Linked DNA regions of Homo sapiens: region 1 is linked to region 2. The links are contacts of gene promoters, found by promoter capture Hi-C in human tissues and cell types (Jung and others, 2019). All regions are on one chromosome and are shown on one strand. Each heading gives the region's core, a stretch centred on a gene start or on the middle of the fragment in contact. The rest is flanking DNA. Distances are from core to core; before and after follow the strand shown. Region 1 overlaps PDE8B (phosphodiesterase 8B). Region 2 holds the start of ZBED3 (zinc finger BED-type containing 3).

Region 1 (5,248 bases), core at 1,594-4,093, 150 kb before region 2:
AGAACTCAGGCAAAAAAGACTACATATTGTATGATTCCATTTATATAAAATTTCCAGAAAAGTTAAAACCAACAGAAAGAGGATCTGTGGTTGTCTGGGTCTGGGAGTGGGAGCAGGCTCAACTGTAAACAGGTGCTAGGGATCTTTTAGGGGTAATGAAATGTTCTAAAACTAGATTGTAGTGATGTTGCCATAACTATATAGATTTATTAAAATTCATGAAACTATACACTTTAATTTGATAAAGTTTATGGTATATAAAGCATACTCCAATAAAGCTGGGGTGTTTTTTCAAAACAAAAAAATGCAATGCTAACTCCTAAATGGCTTACTTAACATACAGATTATATTTTCTGGTAGTATAGTTGGCTCTGTCTAAAGGTATTACATTTTTATCTATGGACATACCATAGAAGATATCTTCTTAGACACTCCTCTTGCACTCCAAAAAAGTTAGGCTCAAGCTACTGAATTATATTTATAAAATTCACCATAAACTTTTCCCATCAACATCATTGCAAAGCCTTGATTAAAAGAGACCACTTTTAAAAAATAGAATAAACATGGTATAGTTGATATTAAAAAGTATAATTGATTGGTATTATACTTTTTATCTTTGGTATTTCTTAGAATGTTAAATCTAATAAGAAAAAGAAATTTGGCCGGGCGCAGTGGCTCACACCTGTAATCCCAGCTCTTAGGGAGGCCGAGACAGGCGGATCACAAGGTCAGGAGATCAAGACCATCCTGGCTAATATGGTGAAACCCTGTCTCTACTAAAAATACAAAAAATTAGCCAGGCGAGGTCGTGGGTGCCTGTAGTCGCAGCTACAGGCTGAGGCAGGAGAATGGCGTGAACCCGGGAGATGGAGCTTTCAGTGAGCCAAGACTGTGCCACTGCACTCCAGCCTGGGCGACAGAGGGAGACTCCGCCTCAAAAAATAAATACATAAATAAATTAAAAAAAGAAAAAGAAATTTGACTGACATTTTGATATAAAACTTCTAACAGAAGGAGCTGATGTCTTAAAGTCTCACTAATAAATTTTAGCCATAATAAACTGGATCTCCAAATCATACCTATTATTTTACCAAATTAGAAATATATCTAGCTTCTTTTAGTGGTTTACAAAGAGCCTAATCCCAAACAGCACTGGATCTCCACTATTTTGCTTTTTTGTTCATTTGAGCCTAACATTCTGCACAACTATTGTCCTTTGAAACATACTTTAAAACATGCTGATGTAGATGAAATATGTTGAGCTAATAACTGTTAACTTCTCTTTAAGCACGTTTGCTACTGATATTTGGCCACCTTTCTTTTCCTGTGCCTTCTGCCAGAACTAAGGACTCAGGGAGGTCTCTTGGAGAGCACTGGATACAGGCTGAGGGATACCAGTGAGGGGAAAATTGTAAACACACCACCAGTTTGGTAGTTCTTCCATTTCTGGCTGCCCTCCCAATCTACCTGTTACTATTTACTTTTCAAGGTTCTTAAATAATTGCTCCATGCATTCTCGCCAGGTTTTATAATTGCATTAAGTTGGAGAGAGAGAATGGAGTGCTTAATTCATCTTACCCCAAATTAGAAGCTCTGGATATTTTACAGGAGGCTCATCGGCATACACCTTGCGTGAATTTGGTGTTGGGACAAGTTAAGGAAGGATTTGAACCATGAGAAAGTTTTGCTGTTGTTTGTAGTAGTGGTGGGCAAGGCAGTGGATTTTTTCTGCTATCTTTTCCAGAGGCATTATAGCAGCTACAGCAGCTGTTCTTAAAATGATAACTTTAAAACTTTAAAGCAAAATTTGAAATGCAAGTTAGCCAGACACTTGTGGTTTCTTTAGCAAATCAATGCAGCTTTAATATTTTCCCAGAGAAATAATCTGATGGCCAACGTGAACTTTGCTTGAAGAACACATGATCTCATGAGAGAGGGAGGAATGGTGGCTGGGAACTGGCCTTGGCACCCAGACTTGGCCTCATCACTTAGTAACAGTGTGACCTTGGTCAAGCTACTGAACCTCTCTAACCTCTAATCCTTCATGTTGGTAAAATGGAGATAAGGATCATAGTGCTTATAGGACAGGATTGCTGCATGATTCAGTGAGGTAATGCACATCATGCTCTTCATGTGGTGCTCAATAAATATTAGTAACTATTCTTACTATGATTGTTTTTGTGCCATAAGTAAAATGATTATGCCTGTTTACCTCCTCAAATTACTTTAAATCTGTTGAAATATGTGACGTCTTATCATTCTTCTCTCAATATCTGAGTTCACATTAAACATCAATTAAGGTTCTTTCTTCAGATTCAAGAGCAATACACTTTGAACTATGATATCTCCAGTAGTCAAAGCATTTGAATACATATTTGACTATAATGATGAGTTACTCCCAATACTTGCCGAAGAAAAGCAATGAGGTGTGCGTGCTGAACTGACAGTAAGTGTATCAACCAGTTTTCCGGATGTTTTATTCAAAAGCCACTCTTCCAAAAATGCTATACTAGTGAGTGCTCTAGAAAAAGAACTCTTTTCATTTGGCTGCTGTCTCCCTTGTTGATTGCAACTCCTGTTTGCAACTGTCTCACTTTTTCTCCTTTATCCCTCATTTTTGCACTAAAAAAATTCACTATGTGTTACTAAAATGAATAGCAATCTGGTCACTTCCTAGGAAGTTTTGTAAACATGCTTATTTAGGAAAACGCTGCTTAGTTGCAACTACGTATTATTCAAAAGGTTAATTCAACATTTTATCCCTCTGTATTTGGAAACCTGTATTTGAAAGACAAAATAATTTTATTTTATGGAAATGCAAATCAGAAAGCTTCTTGGAGGTAAGAGTTATGTATTTTTCTTTCTTTATTTCCTTTCACAACACTTATTGCATAAAATGGGTACTGAATAATTGTCAGCTTAGTTAATTTCAATTTGAATGTGTTTGAATAATTAGTGTGGGTATAACACTTTAAATAGCATATTTTACTGAAAAGATATTAATAGCTAGCCCTAGTGATGGAGAAGATGTTGGCATAGGATTATCTGACTGGTGACAAGGCAGATGTACACTAGGTTATCTTATGGTTTCTACTTTCTTTCTACATGAGTAGAATCCTGTCTACGAGACCTCCTGTGACCTCGGAGTTTTAATTAAAATTTAAATTGCCCTTGGCCGGGCGCGGTGGCTCACGCCTGTAATCCCAGCACTTTGGGAGGCCGAGGCGGGCGGATCACGAGGTCAGGAGATCAAGACCATCCTGGCTAACACGGTGAAACCCCGTCTCTACTAAAAATACAAAAAAGTAGCCGGGCGCGGTGGCGGGCGTCTGTAGTCCCAGCTACTCGGAAGGCTGAGGCAGGAGAATGGCGTGAACCCGGGAGGCGGAGCTTGCAGTGAGCCGGGATCGCGCCACCGCACTCCAGCCTGGGCAATAGAGCGAGACTCCATCTCAAAACAAAACAAAACAAAACAAATTTAAATTGCCCTTTCAAAAAACTCTCAATTGAATGACTAAAACGAAATACAAAAAAAAAAAGCTTCATTTTAACTTTTGTCTTGTGCTGTTACTGGAGAGCTTGTTGAAAAGGAAGGATCACAGAAAAAGTACTGATGAAGGAAGCAAAACACTTAAACTTAGATGCACTTGGAGAGACTGACGTCGAAGGGTTAGGGTTGCTGCTGTGTTTTTCTGCTCAAGGACCCCCTATAAAACATTGTGTTCCCAGGGGATAATGGACCAGGAGCAGCTATAAACAAACATGCTTTAAAAGCCACCCAAGTAGAAGAGCATTCTGGAGAGACAAGCCTGGGTTATTACAAGAATGAAAGCTCTGAACAGGAAGGTGTTTAACCTCATCTAAGATCTTACAATACAGCTAAAGCTAGAGGAGCCCATGTTTGTTAGAAAGATGTGTGGAAAGTTTTAAAGTTACATAAGCATAAGAGATTGGAATTGGATCATGTTCATCAAAAGTGTGGATTTCGATTTCAGAAAGGTTAGATGTTATTTTCCACACTAAAATTATCCAGTAAAGGAGAGAAAAGATTGGTGTTGTTTATTGTACAAAGAATTAGAGAAAAGAAAGGTGGCCAGATATCAGTAGCCCCAGGGAACTTGAAAATACCAAGAGATTGCAAACAAGGAAGTGCTTGGAAAATCGAAGCCATAGGTTGTTTATGTACTGCTAGCATCACCTCCAAGCTGCATATATATGGATCTAACACTAAAAAGCACATTACAGAGAACTAAATTATGAGACAGATCACTTTTCAGGTCACAGACTGGCCACTGGGTGGCATACACATGGGACATATTCAAAGAGCATTGAAAAGGCTTTAAAAATGTAATTGATATAACCACAAAAGAAGGCTGACTAGAAATTGTGGTCTGAACCCAACAGGGTTGATTCCCTGCTAAAACGGAAATATCAAGATTCACCATAAGATTTAATCAAGATACAAAGTCTTATAATCAATCTAAAATTCCTGGACATAAGAACCAGGAAAATTACAACTTGCATGGGACAAGATAATTGACAGATGTTGTGATGATTAATTTTATGTGTCAATTTGACTGGGCTAAGGGATGCCTAGATAGCTTTTAAAACATATCTGAGTGTATCTGTAAGGATGTTTCTGGGAAAGATTAGCATTTGAATTAGTAGACTGAGTAAAGACATTCACCTTCACCAAGTGGGTGGACATCATACAATCTGTTGAAGGCCTGAAAAGAACAAAAGGGCAGAAGAAGGGCAAATTCATTCTCTCTTCTTGAGCTGGCACATTCATCTTCTCTTGCCCTTGGCCATCAGTGCTCCTGGTTCTCTGGCCTTTGGACTCGTACTAGAATTTACACATTGACTCTGCTGGTTCTCAGACCTTCAGATTTGAACTAGAACTGCACTGCCAGATTTCTCAGGCCTCCAGGTTGCAGATGTCAGATCATGAGAATTCTCTGCCTCCATAACTACATGAGCCAATTCCTTGTAATAAACCACTTTCTGTATATCTATGTGTATCCTATTGGTTCTGTTTCTATGAAGAGCCCTCAGTAATATAGATGTCAACACAAAAATGACAAAGATGCTGGAATTATCTGACAAAGACTAAGCAATTATTATAAAAAATTCCAATAAGCAAGAGTTAACACTTGAACCAACTGGAAAGATTTAAAGTCTCAGCAAAGAATAGAAGATATAAAAAAGAATCAAATGAAAATCTGATGACTAAAGGATAGAATAACCA
Region 2 (5,254 bases), core at 1-2,500:
CCTAATAAACACCCCCAACCTTCCCCCAACTCCTCTACCCCCGCCCCCACCCCGGCACTCACCATCCTTCAAGTCCATGTGTGACCTGATTCTTCTGGGAGGTGAGACAAGAGCTGAGATACAGAAACTGTCACACTGACCCTCTGCGCTTGCAAAAAGGCAGAGGGTCTATTGAGCTGGTTAACACTTAAGCCGTCAGCTGATGGTAAGGCTAAAAGAGCACACTGTAACACACGCCCATTTGGGCTCCGGGAATCACGGGATCCTGCCCCTGGACACTGCCGTGGGGCTGGAAGCCCAGCGCCCCAGCTTTTGCACCCTGGCTCCTGCACCCGTCCGTCTGCATGCTCCACCTCCCATAAGGGGTTTCAGCAGGCAGAGACCGAACACACGAGCCACAACCCTGTTGCACGTCCTGCAAAGGGCTGTGGGAGGGCGGGGGCCGGGAGGAAATCAGGGAACTCTCCTGTTTCATTGTCACAAGACTTGCAAGGCTTCCTTAAGAGAGGGGTACACTTCCCCACCCACTGACAGCAAGTTTTGACCAATAGAAAGTGAGCAGAACTGAGGCATGCGGAATGTGAGTTTGGAAAGCAGCTTGTGCCAGTCATGTACAGGAGCTAATTGTTAAATTTCCAGGAACTTGGCAAGCCACTTGTTGGACTGTTTGTAGCTTGAAATCGGCCATTGTGGGAGCATTTACATCATAGAAATAGCAAACACTACATATCTGGACTTCCCCCTTCTCCCTCAAAGTTGGTTTACCAGCCCAGCAGGGAGCATGGCCCAGAAAAGTTGACCTTTCAGCCTGGAGTGAAGAAAACTGGTGGAGTACTGCCAAAGCTCCCTGCAGCCACAGTAATTCGCTTGAGAAATGGACCTTTAAGCCACTGAGTTGCAGGGGTTGTTCGTTACCTGAGCATCATCTAGCCAAAGCTGGTACACCATGCTGGTGTTTTGGTGAACACCAATAAGCGCCGCCTTCATCTGTCCCAACCTAGGTTGGAGGGATTTCTTCCAATAACTTGTGACATCATGCGCCTACAGCCTGCAAAGATGCAAACCGCGCTCTGAGACTCAGGCCCGGGAATTCAGGTCTTGGAAGGTTAATGCAAAGTTGTAAAACAATAGTTACATTTCAACCACACTCAGCTATTGCGTCATCTTAAAACCCTGGCCAACACAAATCTGTCGCTCGCGATCCTTGGCGGTTTCAGAGCGACTCCCCTACCGCTTTCGGGCGAAGGCCACACGTGACGGCCCCCCTTTCCCCGCAGACGTGTGAATGCAGCGCTGTGTCTTTAAGGGGCACGCGCGGAGGTTTTCCGTCCGGGACAAAATGTCAGCGAGGCGCCTGGAGGGGGATCTACCATCTCGGACTCCCGACCCGCCGCCGGCTCCGGCCGCGTTTCCCGGGTAAAGGGGTGAGTGTGGGCTTCCAGACTCGGTGGCGAGGCGGGCTGGGCCGGGCAGCGGGGAGCGCAGGTGAGCAGCGACCGCGGACGCCCCTGCCGGCCTCCCTGGCACCCGCGCGGGGCGTGCCCTTCGCTGGGCTGCCCTTCTCCGGGCCGGCTGTCGCGACTGTGAGAAAGCAGGTGGGCCCGGGATTCTGTGGCAAGGCCCCGCTCACCGTCTTCCAGTGCCTCATTCTTGCTCCTTCCCTGCACTCCTCTTTCGACAAGCTTGTTCGGAATGTGGAAATTCGTCACCACTCTCCTGCTCTCCCTTTATTAAAGTTGTCTGATTACAGTCTTTTCACTGGGCAAGTGACTGGACGCCCTGCAGTGGGTTCTTTCTGTAACTGGGACTTGCTTGATGTCGCCCACTTTCGGAGGGAGAAAGCGAATGCAAGCCAAAAGCTTACACCAGAATCCCCACCCCTCCCCCACCCCTCATGGCCCCCAAACAAAAGAATTTTCCGCTCCTTTCGGAGTCCGCTGGAGCAGTTTCTGTGATTTCTTGCACGAACCAAATGCCCGAGGCTTAGCAAAGCAAAAACCCCCTTGAAGGAAAAAAATAAATACTTACCACTAGTCGAATTTCTAATGAGCCAAGACTACAAAGATAAGGTGTTTAAGAGAAACAGTTGTAGAAACAGCTTAATACATTGACCTAATTAGGGTAATTATTTTCTGCTGTTTTTATTCATATGCTGACACCTTTTGGAGGCAAGAATAGCTTGAGGCAGCCAAGAATAAAAAAAAAAGTAGACAGCAATACGTATTATAAAAAGACCAAAAGCCCAAGCCAGGTAATTCTCAATTTAAAAATTAAATTAAAAAAATCTTTGAGTCACAAAGGCCTTCAAAGTAGGGCAGCTTTAAATTCCTATAACTCAGATTAAATTATGCATTTTTACAAGATAAAATGGATCACCACCTTAATCTTTAGGACCATATCTATTAAGCAAAGTAATGCAGACCTGAAATAAAGGTCCACTTTAAGGGCAGAACACTTCACAATTTTCATTTTTAAAAGTGCATTAATAGAGAGAGAGAGTGCTTCTCTGCCTTTTAGCTAATGGTAGAAATATCTAAGAGTTTGGCTTATGCCATTTAGGAAACAACTCTGATTCACCCCTTAATTACCTGTGAGTCCAGTGTATTTTTTACAGTCCACATATAACCTTTTTCTAAATTTTTACACATTTTACCATTTATTCCCCAACTCAGGTTTTACAGTTTGGAGGCATTTTTACTTGTCTTTTAACTTCAGCTAAGCCTTCAGCCTGGTGATTCCAGACTAATTTTTCTAATTGTCTGGATCTCTTTATAAATAGATTAATATATGGCAGTAAACTAATATTTCAACAGAGATGGACGGATAACAGATGAACTGTGGTTTTCTTGACACTTCAGTTGTCAACTCTAATTACTTGTATTAATTATTATGCTCTGCTTTCATTAAAGTCACTGGTGGATGAAGTAAAAGAAAATGTTTTTAGTGTTTCCACATATGTCTGTGTGAATTTCACGTTAGTGTGAATTTCTCATCTAAGATCCAGGCTCAACCAACATATATTGATTTAAACTCTGCCTGGTCAACCCAACTACAGTAAGTAGCCTTGAGTATAGAAGGACAAATAGAGGTGTAGTTAATCTGCTATGTCCTTTTGAGAACAGTGCCTGGTTCTTTGGCCTTTAGCCTGCCAAATATTTTTTATGTGCACAAGCATAAGTATAAAATAATACAATCAACTTTTGTAGGTGCTTTATAGGATGAGTCTCAATATTATAGTCATACCTTGTGTATATGCCCATGTTTATACAGATTATTCATCCAGGTTTTGATCTCTTCCTTTATTCTTTATATTGGTATTCAGGGACATCATACTGAGGAATCTGGGATTTAATCTGATAGTTCATCAGAAGGATAGAACTTCTTCAGAAATTGAGTCAAATGGAGAGATAATTAATGTGAATTTATTGTCTTCCACAGGCTTAGATTTAAGAACTCCTTCCAAATAATGGATACTCAAATGAAACTCAGCTATAGCAAGTGCAGAGGCATGGTACCAGCAACACTACTCTCTCTCCTTCCTTGAAATATCTAAAATCTACATTTGTCTTTTCAGTTTTTTTCACCCTGAAATTACACTCAAAAATTTCCACTGTTAATTTCATGTTAGCAGTGCTTTTATTTAGCTTCAAGAAACTTTCTTTTAAAATAGGAGCTTGGAAGCCTCGTTATACAACTGAGGAACTGGAACTTCATTAGAGTCGAGTACTAAGGGTAATGTGTTTTGGTGATGGACAACAATGCGTTTGTGCCCTGTGGGGCATGGGAGGGGAAGGGATGCTGAACTGCATGAACTTTTGTGTTAGGGCCCCTAAGACATCAGCTCCCAGGAGCTGCCCATGCCCACCCCTTCCCCAGTGGAGATTATGTGACGGAATTCACCCGAAGGAGTGAGCACTGATTTCACCTTTACCACAGTGTGTTAGTAATCTGTTTTCGCGCTGCTGATAAAGACATACCCAAGACTGGGCAATTTATAAAAGAAAGACGTTTAATGGACTTAAAGTTCCACGTGGCTAGGGAGGCCTAACAGTCATGGCGGAAGGCGGAAGGCGAAAGGCACTTCTTACCTGGCTGCGGCATGAGCTATAATGAGGGTCAAGCGAAAAGGGCTTCTCGTTTATAAAACCATCAGATCTCGTGAGATTTATTCACTAGCACAAGAACAGTATGGGAGAAACCGCGCTCGTGATTCAATTATCTCTCACCAGTTCCATCCCACAACACGTGGGAATTATGGGAGTAGGATTCAGGATGAGATTTGGGTGGGGACACAGCCAAACCATATCACACAGGTATCAGAATTATTGTTGGAAGCATCTCTTTCCCAACCAGACCGTACGCTTCCTGAGGGCAAAGACTATGTGACGTTCCTCTTGGAATGCTTGGCAGAAAGCACGCACCTGACCTTAGCAGGTGCACAATGAGCATTTGAATGAGAGTTGGATGGAGTGAATGGATGTAAGCAAAATACTCATTCATTGGCATCTTTGTGTTAGTTTAAAAATTTTTTCAAGGAAAAATTAAGGGAGCTTTTTTCATTTTCTTATTAGCTAACCACAGAATTAATGATATGCATTCTCATTGGGTATTTGGTAAGGAAGAAACGCGTTATCACAGGGCTTTGGCTAATTAAACCTCCCCATTATCTTATTTTACCCTAGTGATAAATAACCTATTTTGCATGAAGTTCAATTTAGGAAGTGAAAATAAATTTAAGGGGTAAGGGTCTTGGATCTGTTACTCTTTTTTATTTGCTCTTTGTAGTCAATTCCCAAGGGGATTCCTCCAACTTAGACTACTTACTCTGTTGAATAACATAATGTCAGATGGAAAAACAACTGCCTTTTAGCCATTAAAATCTTAACGTGGGCATGTCTGAGCAGTAAATATCGGTAGTTTCTTTATTGTTCATGTCTTAAATTTATATAACACCGGAGAGTCCAACAGTGACATCATTTGCACTATCTATGATCTCAGCCACCTGTTTAGAGGCAAATAATCTTATTATTTCTCTTGACAGATGGGAAGATTGAGACTCGGGTGGGCTGGGGCTAAAGAAACAGAGTCAGGTTCACTTCACTTAATGCAGCATCCCCCAAGTGTCTACCCTGTGCCAGGGAGATGAATGGGATGAGCTCCTCTTCCATGACATCCTGGGTGTGAACACAGAATCTCCTTCTGCAGAGCACAGCAAACCACGTGACAATGAGCAGCCTCACATGCTGGGTTTCCT

The links. Contacts are between HindIII fragments. The study calls those that stand out against the background at their distance.
Region 1: a contact is called between a fragment that was not itself captured here and the fragment with the promoter of ZBED3 in region 2, in 1 of the 25 tissues and cell types used here (hippocampus).

The regions. Positions count from the first base shown.
Region 1 is chr5:77,238,378-77,243,625 of GRCh38, reverse strand. The region is part of intron 1 of PDE8B (phosphodiesterase 8B); the gene reads right to left. Among named protein-coding and RNA genes, the nearest start is that of PDE8B, 30 kb to the right of the region's middle. The HindIII fragment of the contact is 3,733 bases long and covers 977-4,709 here.
Region 2 is chr5:77,083,281-77,088,534 of GRCh38, reverse strand. ZBED3 (zinc finger BED-type containing 3) reads left to right here and starts at 1,250. Exons shown (of 3, transcript NM_032367.4): 1 at 1,250-1,424. ZBED3-AS1 (ZBED3 antisense RNA 1) reads right to left here and starts at 1,820. Exons shown (of 3, transcript NR_182763.1): 1 at 916-1,820. It also overlaps a transcript of PDE8B not described here. RefSeq lists enhancers at 1-387, 388-990, 991-1,592 and a silencer at 1,409-1,578. The HindIII fragment of the contact is 7,057 bases long and covers 1-5,122 here.